2 separate regions of the Homo sapiens genome follow, and region 1 is linked to region 2. The links are contacts of gene promoters, found by promoter capture Hi-C in blood cells and fetal thymus (Javierre and others, 2016). All regions are on one chromosome and are shown on one strand. Each heading gives the region's core, a stretch centred on a gene start or on the middle of the fragment in contact. The rest is flanking DNA. Distances are from core to core; before and after follow the strand shown. Region 1 has its middle 33 kb from the start of SUPT20HL1. Region 2 holds the start of PDK3 (pyruvate dehydrogenase kinase 3).

The links. The method cuts DNA at HindIII sites, captures the fragments that hold promoters and counts their contacts. A CHiCAGO score of 5 or more calls a contact.
Region 1: a fragment that was not itself captured here is called in contact with the fragment with the promoter of PDK3 in region 2 in 1 of 17 cell types (naive CD4 T cells); the score reaches 5.7 in naive CD4 T cells.

Annotation. Positions count from the first base shown.
Region 1 is chrX:24,390,248-24,396,469 of GRCh38, reverse strand. No RefSeq gene overlaps it. Among named protein-coding and RNA genes, the nearest start is that of SUPT20HL1, 33 kb to the right of the region's middle. The HindIII fragment of the contact is 8,185 bases long and covers 168-6,222 here.
Region 2 is chrX:24,463,616-24,470,001 of GRCh38, reverse strand. PDK3 (pyruvate dehydrogenase kinase 3) reads right to left here and starts at 4,716. Exons shown (of 11, transcript NM_005391.5): 1 at 4,441-4,716. The coding sequence starts at 4,546. RefSeq lists a silencer at 4,656-4,975. The HindIII fragment of the contact is 17,643 bases long and covers 1-6,386 here.

The sequences.
Region 1 (6,222 bases), core at 3,011-5,510, 73 kb after region 2:
CTTTGATCTTCTCTCCAGTTGGCCTGATATTCATGGCAGAAAAAGCTGGTCTAACCACACTTTCCTCTTTCCATAAAGGCATTTTATGATGTTTCCATGCAAACCCAATATTCTTACTGACAGTGAAGTAGGGGACAGAGGCAATAAAAAAAGTGGATGTGAAAGCTTACAATACAAAAGAAGAAAGGCTCTTCTCCCAAGTTATGAACAGCTTCTAAATCACATAGAGCATCAGCATCGGCAGAAAATAGATGTGTATGAAAGATATGCTTATGTGTTACATAAATCTATGTGTCTGCCTGCAAAAACTGATAATTAAGAAGCAGAAGAAAGTAATCAAGACTTGACTCTGTATCCCAAAACTCAGGAAAGTGCCAGGGTTGTTTTGTCATTGGTGTTTTTCCTCCCCAGTAATAGATTCTCTTCCCTCTTCCACAAGCATTTTGTAAGGCTATGTTTAGAATAGACGTCAGAGCTGGGAAACCAACCTGCAAAGCAAGACTTTCCCAAGGGTGTCATCTTGTGGTGCTTCTGTGTATTACAACATTTCTTCGACCTGATGCAGACCACAGCTGGAAACAAGAGGCAAATAACTGTGAATCAGTCCTTTGATTTACAAAGTTGAATCAGTCCTTCGATTTACAAAGTTGAACCTTTGCGACTTGGCATTAGATAGTGTGTGGTGGGTGTCAAACACACAGGTGCTGAGAGATGGTTTAAAATTTTTAAGTGCTGCCATAATGTGGAAGTCATACATCAGGAGACAGAATGTTTGGTCGGCCTGAACATTCAGCTAGTTTCATAAAATAGCACACTCAGCACCCCCCTTTTTTTGTATCAAGCCATAAAAATGTTTACAGGCCGGGCACAGTGGCTCACACTTGTAATCCCAGCATTTCGGGAGGCCGAGGTGGGCAGATCACCTGCAGTCAGGAATTCGAGACCAGCCTGACCAACATGGAGAAACCCCCGTCCCTACTAAAAATACAAAATTAGCCGGGCGTGGTGGCGCATGCCTGTAATCCCAGCTACTCGGGAGGCTGAGGCAGGAGAATTGCTTGAACCTGGGAGGCAGAGGTTGCGGTGAGCCGAGATCGCGCCATTGCACTCCTGCCTGGGCAACAAGAGTGAAACTCTGTCTCAAAAAAAAAAAAAAAAAAAAAAAGGTTTACAAAGGGTCACTGAGGAAAGATTCATGAAAATACAACTTCTATAGAAAGGACTTAGAATCGCTGCATTTTAGAGATAGAAGAATCCCTTTAGAGGTGGGCTTAAGCTGGGGACCATAGTCCTGCTTTAGGAAAAATGAACTCCTTGAAATTGAACATAAAGAGTAGTGTTGGCACATACCGGCATTTTAATACATAGAGAATCTATCATTTTTATCAGATTATCAAAAGAGTCCGTGGCCTAAAGAAGATTAAGAACTAATGCTTGGGGCCAGGCGTGGTGGCTCATGCCCATAATCCCAGCACTTTGGAAGGCCAAGGTGGGCAGATCACTTAAGGCCAGGAGTTCGAGACCAGCCTGGGCAACATGGTCAGGGGGGAAACCCCCTGACCATGGGGAAACCCCATCTCTACTAAAAATACAAAAATTAGCCGGGCATGGTGGTAGGCACCTGTAATCCCAGCTACTCGGGCAGCTGAGGCAGAATTACTTGAACCCGGGAGGCAGAGGTTGCAGTGAGCCAAGATCGTGCCACTGCACTCCAGCCTGGGCGACAGAGTGAGACTCTGTCTCAAAAAAAAAGAAAGAAAGAATGCTTGAGATCCTAGCCTCATATCCTCTACAAAAATTCTGTCTACAACAGCCTTGACAGATTCAGTTACTCTCAGGTTAAACTTTACTGTTGTAGAGACACCACTACCTTGAGGCAGTTGTTTAATGCTAATTGCTTCTAAGCATTCAGAAGTTTCATACTGCGTTGGACTGTCAATGGAATGTCAACCCACTGGGCTTAGTTCTACTCTCTACCCTACCACAGCCTGGTCCAGACCTTTTCCAAATGTCATCCCTTTGCATCTTTTGTGTTAGCTTGATGTCCTTCCTCCATGTCTCCCCCTTGCCAGACTATACCTACCTAGCACTTACAGCTTTCACTTGCCATGACTTTCAGAGACCTCATTTCCCAGGTACCCTGTCCCCTTTTTATAAGAGACAGTGATTCTTTGAAAACTTGACATACAAAACTGAATGCACTACCCCCAATGACAGCCCCTTCCACCTACAGATTGCCTTATTTGAACTTGTTCAAAACACTCACACTCTTTTCTATTTCTGCCTCTCTCTCTTCTTTAACCAAGAGTCTTTCACCATTTCCAGTTTAAAGAGCATTCTCTTTAATAAACAATAAGAAAAAGGGGGAAACAAACTAGGAATTGTACGGTTCTTTCTCGTGGTCTTTTGCTTGTATCACTTCACTCACCCCAAGCAGACCTATTTTCTCCTTATTTTATTTCTGGTCTAAATGTAGCACAAATGATTTTTGTATTGCTGACATTAGACTTTCTGAAAATCTGGGCCATTCTATCTTTTGATTTCCAATCTGATAAACTTTTGACATGATTTGTGTTGATTCTTTACTGATGTCTGGTTTCTGTTTCTATACATATCCCTTCAAAATCAAAGCTATTGAAGAGCTGAAGCCTCGACGGCTTCTTTAGATCCACCCCATTCCTCTCCTCTCCAGCTTCCTCTGTGGTTATATATTATGAACAATTCTTCAGCAATCATTTTCTCTTGCTCATCTCTGGTTTTTGGACTCTCCAGCCATGAGCTCATGACCATATTTTTTTGGTAAATTTTTTGACGTGTTCTTTCCCAAACTCTGTGGACATGCCTGGGGATCCCTTTCTTGGCTATGTCAAATTGTCCTTGTCATTTTCTCCTGTTTCCTGTCACCTCCACCATCACCTCATTGATGATCATTAGCACTGGTATATCAGTTCTCCTCATGGCTTCATCAGCACTGTGAGGTAATGACAGTTAAACAAAAGGGACAGTGACAAATGATCAAGGCTGGTGATGAAACTAGAAAGAAATGGATAGGAAGGACAGTTCAAGAAGGAACTCTACAAATGCTGACTGTCTTACAGTTCTCCTCTTGGGCTTGGCCTGGTGCAATGGTGGCAGGCATGGATTTTTGGAGATCAGATGTGGCTCCAATAGCTAGCAATGCAGTGAACAGAAAATGTGCAAGGCCAGGGTGGGTAGAAGCTAATTCCTGGGCCACCAGCAGCACACATCTTCAGAACCTCATGAACTAGAGGACCTGGACCTCTTACAATCCTTTGGCTGGGATTTTCCCAGAAATCTGGCCAGACTGAAGGCATCAGAACATGCAGCTAAGGGACAGAGGACCACTGCAGACAAGCAGATCCACCTAACATAAGCCCTGTAGGCAGCAGGCAATTTCGTGTGAGAAATCGTCCTTGTTTGTGAAATGAACAATTTCCACTCCCTCTGGCAGACGCTATAGGAGTCCTGCCAGTATCCGCTCAGCACTCACCAGCCTTGTACATGCTGATAGCTTTCTATTGCAAGCATCTGCAACTCTGCCTGGGGCTTTTTCCAGCTGCAGGGGGGTGCTCACCAAATACCCAGGGTATGCCAGAAGTTTCAGGAAGCGGCAATGGCAAAATGCCCCAGCTTCTCACCCCAAGTGGGACAACTCAAGCATGTGTTTGCATGGTCTCTCAGATGTGCCCAGCAGGATCAAACCCCAGTTGCCAACAGTGGTCTGCTGCTGACACCGGTAAGATATCCTTTTTTTTTTTCTTTTTTTTTTTTTTTTTTGAGATGGAGTCTCGTTCTGTCATCCAGGCTGGAGTGCAGTGGTGCGATCTCGGCTCACTGCAACCTCCGCCTCCCGGGGTTCAAGCAATTCTCCTGCCTCAGCCTTCTGAGTAGCTGGTACTACAGGCACACGCCACCATGGCCGGCTAAATTTTGTATTTTTTAGTAGAGACAGGGTTTCACCATGTTGGTCAGGCTGGTCTCAAACTCCTGACCTCGTGATCCACCCGCCTCGGCCTCCCAAAGTGCTGGGATTACAGGCGTGAGCCACCGCGCCCAGCCTGGTAACATATCCTGTACTGACTACCTGCCTTCTCTGCCCTGTCCCTCCAATTCTCACTTCCATACTGGTGCTTCCTGGGATCTCTTCCAAGTAAACTACTTGAACTCAGATCCTAGTCTCAGGCTTTCTAGGGGAATTAGCTGAAGACACTCCCTGATTGTAGTTCTTTAAATTACATCCCTTGCTCCCCTTTCCCTCAGGGCTCACACAATGGCCACTCCAGGGAAATTGTTTTTCTGCACCCTACTTGGGACAAGCCGTCTTGTTTTGTGCCTCCCCAGGAAGGTAGTCATGAAGCGGTTTCCACACTTTTCCATGTCTGTTCACCAGCGCACTGCTGATAACATTAAGCACTACTGGGAACCCTGCCTGTGAGCCAGCCTGACCACTCAACCTCAACACCTTCCTGCCAGTCCCCTAAGGCAGTGATTCTCAGGGCATGGTCCAAGGATCCCCACATCCAAATTACCCAGGGAGCATGTTGAAAATGAAGTTTCCTGAGTCCCACCCACTGAATTACAATTTCTGGAGATGAAGCCCAGGAATCTACATTTTAAACGACTTCCAGGGGATCTTACACAGCCTGAAGTTTGAGATCCACTGTTTGGAAGTTTGGGTGGTCACCAATTAGCAGCACCAATTTGCCCCAGTAAGTTCTTTGCCCAGCCTTGTTCAGCAAAACCCATAATATTCAGTGGACGATAGCAGCTGCTTCATTCAAATGGCGCCACCCTTTTCCTGTTTCTGAGTGGCCTTCCCTGAAATTCTGTATGTTTTTCCTGCCCGCGTGGACTTTTGACACTGCTTTGCTCATGGTGCCTGGAGGTTTAGGTTCCCTGGGGTGGAATTTAGCCAATGACCAGCAGGTGTGAGCATCTCAAAGTCCAGCTGCCTTGTTTGGATTTGTGGTACACTAAAGGGGTGTAACTTACCCCCAAGAGCTCCCCTGTGGGATCGGGCTGGGGCAGTGACTTCACTTAAGATCATCTATTTGTAATTAAAAAAAAAAAAAAACCTAATGCTAAATGACGAGTTAATGGGTGCAGCACACCAGCATGGCACATGTATACATATGTAACTAACCTGCACATTGTGCACATGTACCCTAAAACTTAAAGTATAATAATAATAATAAAAATTTTAAAAAAAAGATAATCTATTTGCTTAGCTCCCTCCCCTTCTCTGTCCTGTCCTCCATTCCCTCCCTGCCTCCCCTGGGAGCATGTCCTTAATAAATCACTTGCTTGTGAATCCTCATCTGAAGGTCTACTTCTGGGGACATTTACCTAAGAACCTATTTTCCTTACTTTTTCCTGACTTTTGCTACATAAGTGAACTTGAGAGTAGCTAATTACACCATAAATAACAGTTCTACTCAGTATCAAATTGATCACAAGGAGTTTAAGTTATATTTAAAGAAGGTGCCTGGATGGATGTAGGTTATGAAAGCTAATGCCCTTTTTCCTACTCTACCGTTTCCTCTCCCCCTTCAATGACAGCTAATATTTAATTAGCACTTATGTATTCCAGGCACTGTTCTAAGCACTCTCACATATGTCATTTAATGCTCATGGCAACCCTATAATATTGGCACATTTATCATTTCATTTTATCATGAGGAAACTGAGCATATAGATAGCAAGTGACTTGCCCAAGGTCACACAACCAGTAAGTGGCAGAGCCAGCAATCAATCCAGGCAGTCTGGTTCTGATGTCTGGGGCCAAGGTGGATTTCTCCCTTCTTGGAGATGCATTGTATTTATCTGTTTGGCATAACTTTGATATTATGGCATTTGACATAACTTTGACATTATGATGTTTGGCATAACTTTGAAATTATGGCATTTGGCATAACTGTGACATTATGGCGTATCTTGTTTACCACGCACTTCATGTGACCGTATCTTGTCTCACCCCAGACATAGTAAGCCCTTTGGGAGTGGATCCAACTTTTCATACCACTTGTAGCTTCTCCCTAGGACAGAATGTGCTCTGTATGTACCTGTATATTGATTGATCATATTCTTCACCAATTTCCTCCTGCCCTGTCCTTGGTCCTTTAATCACCTCCTTTGACTACAGGCCCAGACTTCCTCTTCTTCCTCCTCGTTCACCACCATCACAGACAATGACCAGCAGGT
Region 2 (6,386 bases), core at 3,467-5,966:
CATGAAGAATATATAATAGATAATAAAATTGTACTGTATATGGGATTCATGCTAAATGAGTAGATTTTAGCTGACCTTGCCACAAAAATAAAAAAGGGTAACTATGTGAGATGATAGATATGTTAATTTCACTGTAGTAACCTTTTAACTATATGTATCCCATAACATCATGTTGTATACCTTAATTATACACAATAAAATTTATATATGTATTTACCTATACATGTACATCCCCCAGGCTGGAGTGCAGTGGCAGAAACACAGCTCACTGCAGCTTCAATCTGGGCTCAAGCCATCCTCCTGTCTCAGCCTCCTGAGTAGCTAAGACCCCAGGTGTGCGATACCACCACTCCTGGCTAATCTTATTTATTTATTATTATTATTTTTTTTAGAGACAGGATCTCACTATGTTGCCCAGGGCTGGCCTCAAACTCCTGGTCTCAAGCCATCCTCTGTCTTGGCCTCTCAAAGCACTGGAATTACAGGCACCCACCTAAGTTTTTTTTTTTAATTTCCACAATAAAAAACTAAAATAAAGACATCTTTACTCAAGGAGAAAAAAATTCTATCTAGATATATCATTTTTTTTTTACCTATCAAAAGTTTGACAACAATGTGGTGAAGGCATAGGAAAACAGGTACTCTCAGAAACTTCTAGCGAGGGGGAAAACAAACAACCTTTATGGAAAGCAATTTGACAATGTTCGCCAAAATTACAAATGCACATACCTGCTGATGTAGCAATCTCACGTTTAGGAATCTGTCCTACAGATACACGCGGACATGCATGAAATGACAATGCATATAATAATTCACTGGAGGGCAGGTTGCCACAGCAAAGTCTAGAAACAACCTATTAATTGTAGCCATCAATAGGGAAAGTTGCTAATAAATTCTGGTACATTCATATAACCAAATTCTCAGAAGCCATAAAAAAGAAAAACAAAGTTCTGCAGGTACAGATATACAAAAATCTGTCTCTAAGGTATTAAGCTCAAAAAACAAGGAACAGACAAAGCTATAAACTGCCATTTATGCGAAAAAAGGGGAGGCCAGTGGGCACAAGTGGGAAGCAGGCTTTTCTGTGTCCTTTTGAACCCTCTGAATTTGGAACCATGTGACTGTAATCTTAGGCCCAAAAGAAAAATCTCATTTTAAAAAATGCCACCCTTTGGAATGTACTATTGCCATAATAAATTAAAAATCCATTTAGAACACTTGTTATTCTTGCTATATTTGCTAACTGTGTGGCAGGCTATATTTCAAGTCAAGATGGAGTTCAAGAAACTTTCATTATTTTAAAAAGCATAGAGAAAAATACTGCACATAGATGAAAGGGGGCCAGCAGATCAGACAGAAGATCATCTGATTAATGGTGCTTAACCCTGGATATGCTTTAGAATGACAGGGGGATCTCCTAAAAATACCAGTGCTCTGCTCTCCACCCCCAGCACCCCCAGACCATTTACAACAAAAATTCAGAGTATGAGGCCCTGGCCTGAAAACCACTCAAGTAAACACTTCCAAACAGTGATTCAACAGAAGTCCAGGGGACATTTTGCTCCCCCAGGGGACATTTGGCAATGACTGGAGACATGTTTGGTTGTCACGACTTGGAGTGGGAGGTGCTCATGGCATCTAGTGGGTAGAGGCCAGGGATGTAGCTCAACTTCCCACAGTGCACAAGACAGCTCCTACCAAAATTACCTGGCCTGAAATGGCAAGAGTGCTGAGGCTCAGGAACCCCTGCTTTAAAATAAAAGCACAGCTTCTGAAGTAACAACAAGTTTTAGCCTCCACTTTTGAACATAGCAAATAATCTCCTTATTTACTGATGTGCAGTACATCCACATAAGAAAGCCTATTTATCAAGGTTGTAACAAATTGTGTATATCCTGTGTATCTCCTTTCTCTGGTCCCTGTCTAGTTACTCTAGTCAAAATGTACGTCCCATTTGTAAAGTACCCATGGAGAAAGGCATCAAGTTCATAAACTAGCAGCCTGTGGGCCAACTTGATCCATCCATCTATTTTGTTTATGCCAAAGTTCTCTTGAAATATACTGAATTGGTGCCAATCAGCTGCCCCTTTGGAGCTAGCTATATACCAGGAATTTATCACGGTCCTCAACTCGTTGGCTTCATTCACTTATCCACTGCCCACTACCTGGTGCTTTAAGTGCCTGAGTTGGCCCTCTCCTGCAGTTTTCTCTAATCATACAGGGGCATGAAGCCTCTTCACTCCTCCTCTCTCCTCACCTTAAAAATATCCCACACCCATTCTGAATTCTCCAACTCCCACATCAATTGCCAAAATAGAACTGCTATCAAGAGACAGAACTAAGAGAAAAGTAGAAGTAGAGATGGCCTTTTTGCAACAACTCCCGTCTTTTAGTTGTCCTGTCATTAAAGATAGGCTGATTAGCACCTGATTCATCTCTGGGTGTTACAAACTAGCCTTGTCACTTCTAGCAAATTCCACTACAACTATATCTAGCACTTCTGTGCGCTTCCTTATAAGGAAAACCTTAAATTATTATGCTTCTCTCATGACCTTAGTGAATCCCTCCACCCCTCCCAAAATAGGTCAGAAGACTTTTATAGGAAATATCTATCAAAAGATTTGGTAGTTTTCTTTTAGAAAGTTCATGCCTCTTCCTTTGAAATCACAATCGTATAGTGGTGAGCTGTGCTTTTAAAGATCGCCTGATACAATCTACTCATTTTATTAATGAGGAAAATGAACCCCAAGTGAGGTTTGGTCACTTAGTCAAGGCCACATTCTGAGCTAGTGGCAGAGCCAGAATTAGAACATTTGTTTCCAGATACTGGCCTCACAGGTTTTCCATGATAACACTATCCTCCACTGTGGTTTTCCTACTCACATAACATCCTTACCAAAATACCTATTAACACGGGTAGACACTAGCTGCTATGGAAATCAACTAACCAAAATTTTGGCTGGCTATTGGAGCTATCACTTAAACTTTGAGGGTGGAAAGAACTGGGAGTTTCTGGATTCCTTTTGTTCCTTTTATTGTGAATTATCCTGTTTCAGTTTACACTAATGAAAGGCTGATACCTTCAGAATCTTCCCTAAACCATAAAGATGGAAAACTTGCCTATATTTATAGCAATAGCAACATTTTCTAAACTCTAAAGTCAGAAACTGCCTCAAACCTCTACAATTCTCGAGATAGTAAGTAAAACTACCAATAGCTTTTGGGAGTGAAGTTTGAAGATGCAGAAATCAACGTGTCATTGAACTTTGACTTTCATCATCATTCTCTGGCAAATTGGCTTCTAAAATTTTAATTTGGTCTCAACTTTAACCTATTCCTCTCTTCCTATCCTAGCTTTTAAAAAAAAAAAAGTATGGACATCACTTTTTGCATATCAGGTCTTCCTCAAATGTTCTACCTACTCTGCACTTTAGTTTTTATGCCCAACTGACACTATCACTGACACCCTTGACATTTACATAAAATTCATTAAATGAACAGACACCCTACGATTTCCCCTGGAGAGCTTAGAACATCTTTGCTGCTGGATTTGATTTTCCTCCAGGGATGCTGAGTTCCATTCTGATACCTCAATGCATGCGTTTTACTTTTAGGTGTTTCACAACCAGCTCCTTCGTTTTCTGGGGAAACATGATTCAGTTAACAGAAGGTGGTGGAATCTATTCCCATCTCAGCTAGGCCTGAGGCAGGCTGGGAACCCGAATCTTCTTTGGTCCCACCTCAATCCGTGAAAGCCGCCCACCAGCCCACCGGACAGGGAGAATGTGGGTGGGACACCAATGGAGAAGAGAAACGAAAGGTGCTGGCACTAAAGCCAGAGTTGTATTAGACCCTGCTCTGATGCTAGGATCCCAGACGTCCGCTCTTCCCAAGCATCTAAGGCGTCTGCAGGCCAGGCCTCTAACTGATTTAACATAACCTGATGAAGACAACAGTTCGAGTCCTGCCACTCCAGCCACACAGCAACACCTTAGAGCAGAAAAGGAACAAAATGCCATTGCATAATTTATTCAACCTCAAGGTATTTCTAAACAGTTCTTACCCAACCAAAAAAAAAAAATTCTAAAAATAAAAACATTAAAAAGCCACCCACATCTCGTTCTGAAGTTTTAAGGGCTGTGAGGTTTGTGTCAAGCAGATTTGAAGCTAACGACCGCAGGTTTGGGGAGTCTCGCCTGCGATGAGGGTCCTGCAATGAGACGCCGTTTCTGTGTCTCCGGGTAAGTCCCAGGCTGGGTGCGAGGGGGCCAGGCCCTGCCCCTCCGCGCCCCGAAATCCGAGCCCCAGGAGAGCCCCCCGGATATTCCCTAGCCCCGCCTGCGGTTCCCACAGACTTTACCCCGAAGCTGCGGAGATCCGGGGTGGCAGCCCGAATGGCGGCGGCCCCGGGCCCATGGGGACCCTTGGCCCCGTACTCACCGAAGTCCAGGAATTGTTTGATGGAGAGCGGCGACGGCGAAAAGCGCGAGTAGCGCTCGATCTGCTTGGGCACCGGCTGCTTCAGCAGCCACCGGAACAGCCGCATCCTCGCCCGGGCGGCGCACAGACCCGCCTAGACGCCCGGGTGGCCGCAAGGGCTGGCGCAGCCAAGCCGCACGGATAGGGCACGTTTGCGAAGCGCGCACCCCGGCCTCGATCTCGGCCTCGGCGCCGCCGGTGCAGCCGCCGCAGCAGCAGCAGCAGCTCCAGGACAGCGGCGGGCCGCCCGCGGCTTCCCTAGGCTCCGCCTCGCTGGGCGGAGTCGGTTGCTGCACGTACGCGGCGCGCGAGGGGAGGCGAGGAGCGCGAGGGGCACGCGGCCGCGCGCGCCCTCCACTGATTGGCCGCCGCTGCCTCTGTGACGTTTGTGTTTTGTCCGGGCGCGGCGCCAGAGACCCCCCTCCCTGGCTCATGGGACTCAGCCCAGCCCAGCAAGTGCAGCCGCTTTCAGCTCCGCCTCTGGCTGGGTTCTCCGCTGCCGAAAGGTAGCCGAGGTGCCCGCGGACCGGGAAGAGGCCAGGAGCCCGGAATCCGATCCTCCGCGCTGCTCAAGACCCTTCTCAACCGCAGGCGCCTTTTCCGGGAGGAGGACTTGCCGTTCGCTGCATCCTGACACTTAGATTTTACAGCCTAACTAGACTGACTCTGTTTCGTGGCCCAGCCCCACCCCCACCTCCCTGCCTGACTCCCAAGAGAACACCTTTGGAACACCTTTGGACTGGATTGTTAGTTCGCTGATTCTCTTTTTCGTGGTTCCTTTCCCCTCCTTCCCGCACAAGATTAAGTGACTGATTGCATTTCATGTCCCCCCACCACCACCGTTGGACGGGATCCATTGTGAGGTCAAGGGTCAATAACACCCCCTACCTCCCCAATGCCAGTGGACAGGATAATTGCAAGGTCACTGACTCTGTTTCATACCCCCCCACCCCACTACTACCATTGGAAAGGATCAAATGTAAGGTCACTGGCACTTTCTTTCATACCCCTTCTCTACACCACCACCATAGGACAGCCCCCTTCACGCTTCACCACCACTTTTGGACAGGAGTCTATGCTTACACAGTGTTGGGTATTCTTTATCTCAAGTGAACTTGAGAGCCTGGCATGGTGACATGCACCTATAGTCCCAACGACCCTGCAGGCGGAGGTGGGAGGATCACGTGAGCCCAAAAGTTCAAGATCTGCCTAGGCAACATACCCAGACCCCCCTCTCAAAAAAAAAAAAAAGTGAACTTGAACTCAGGGCTCAGTATATGAAATTGTTATTTCCTATTATGAGTGAATAAAGTACAGCTTACTTTAGCCATTTCCACCAAACCTTGGCTTTTTTTTTTTTTTTGGCAATATGTAAACATAAACATATGTAACTAAAAGGACAGGAAGAATGTTCTTTAAGGAAAGGTACAAATGTGACTGGAAGCCACTCCTTGGGTCTCTGATTGGACTAGTTTTCTCACTGAATGAGATTATTGGTGGGTAGCTATTTAGCTTTTGTGCCTTCAGTGGACGTTTATGCAGCCAATTCTTTGCTTAATAAAATAGTTGCATCTCTACTCTGAATGTAAAGAAAAGTAACATACACAGTAAAAGACCTCGGCCAGGTGCGGTGGCTCACGCCTGTAATCCCAGCACTTTGGGAGGCCGAGGCGGGCGGATCACGAGGTCAGGAAACCGAGACCATCCTGGCTAACGTGGTGAAACCCCAGCTCTACTAAAAGTACGAAAAATTAGCCGGGCGTGGTGGCGGGCCCCTGTAGCCCCAGCTACTCAGGAGGCTGGGGCAGGAGAATGGCATGAACCTGGGAGGCGGAGCTTGCAGTGAGCCGAGATCGTGCCACTGCACTCCAGCCTGGGCGACAGAGCAAGACTCCATCTCAAAAAAA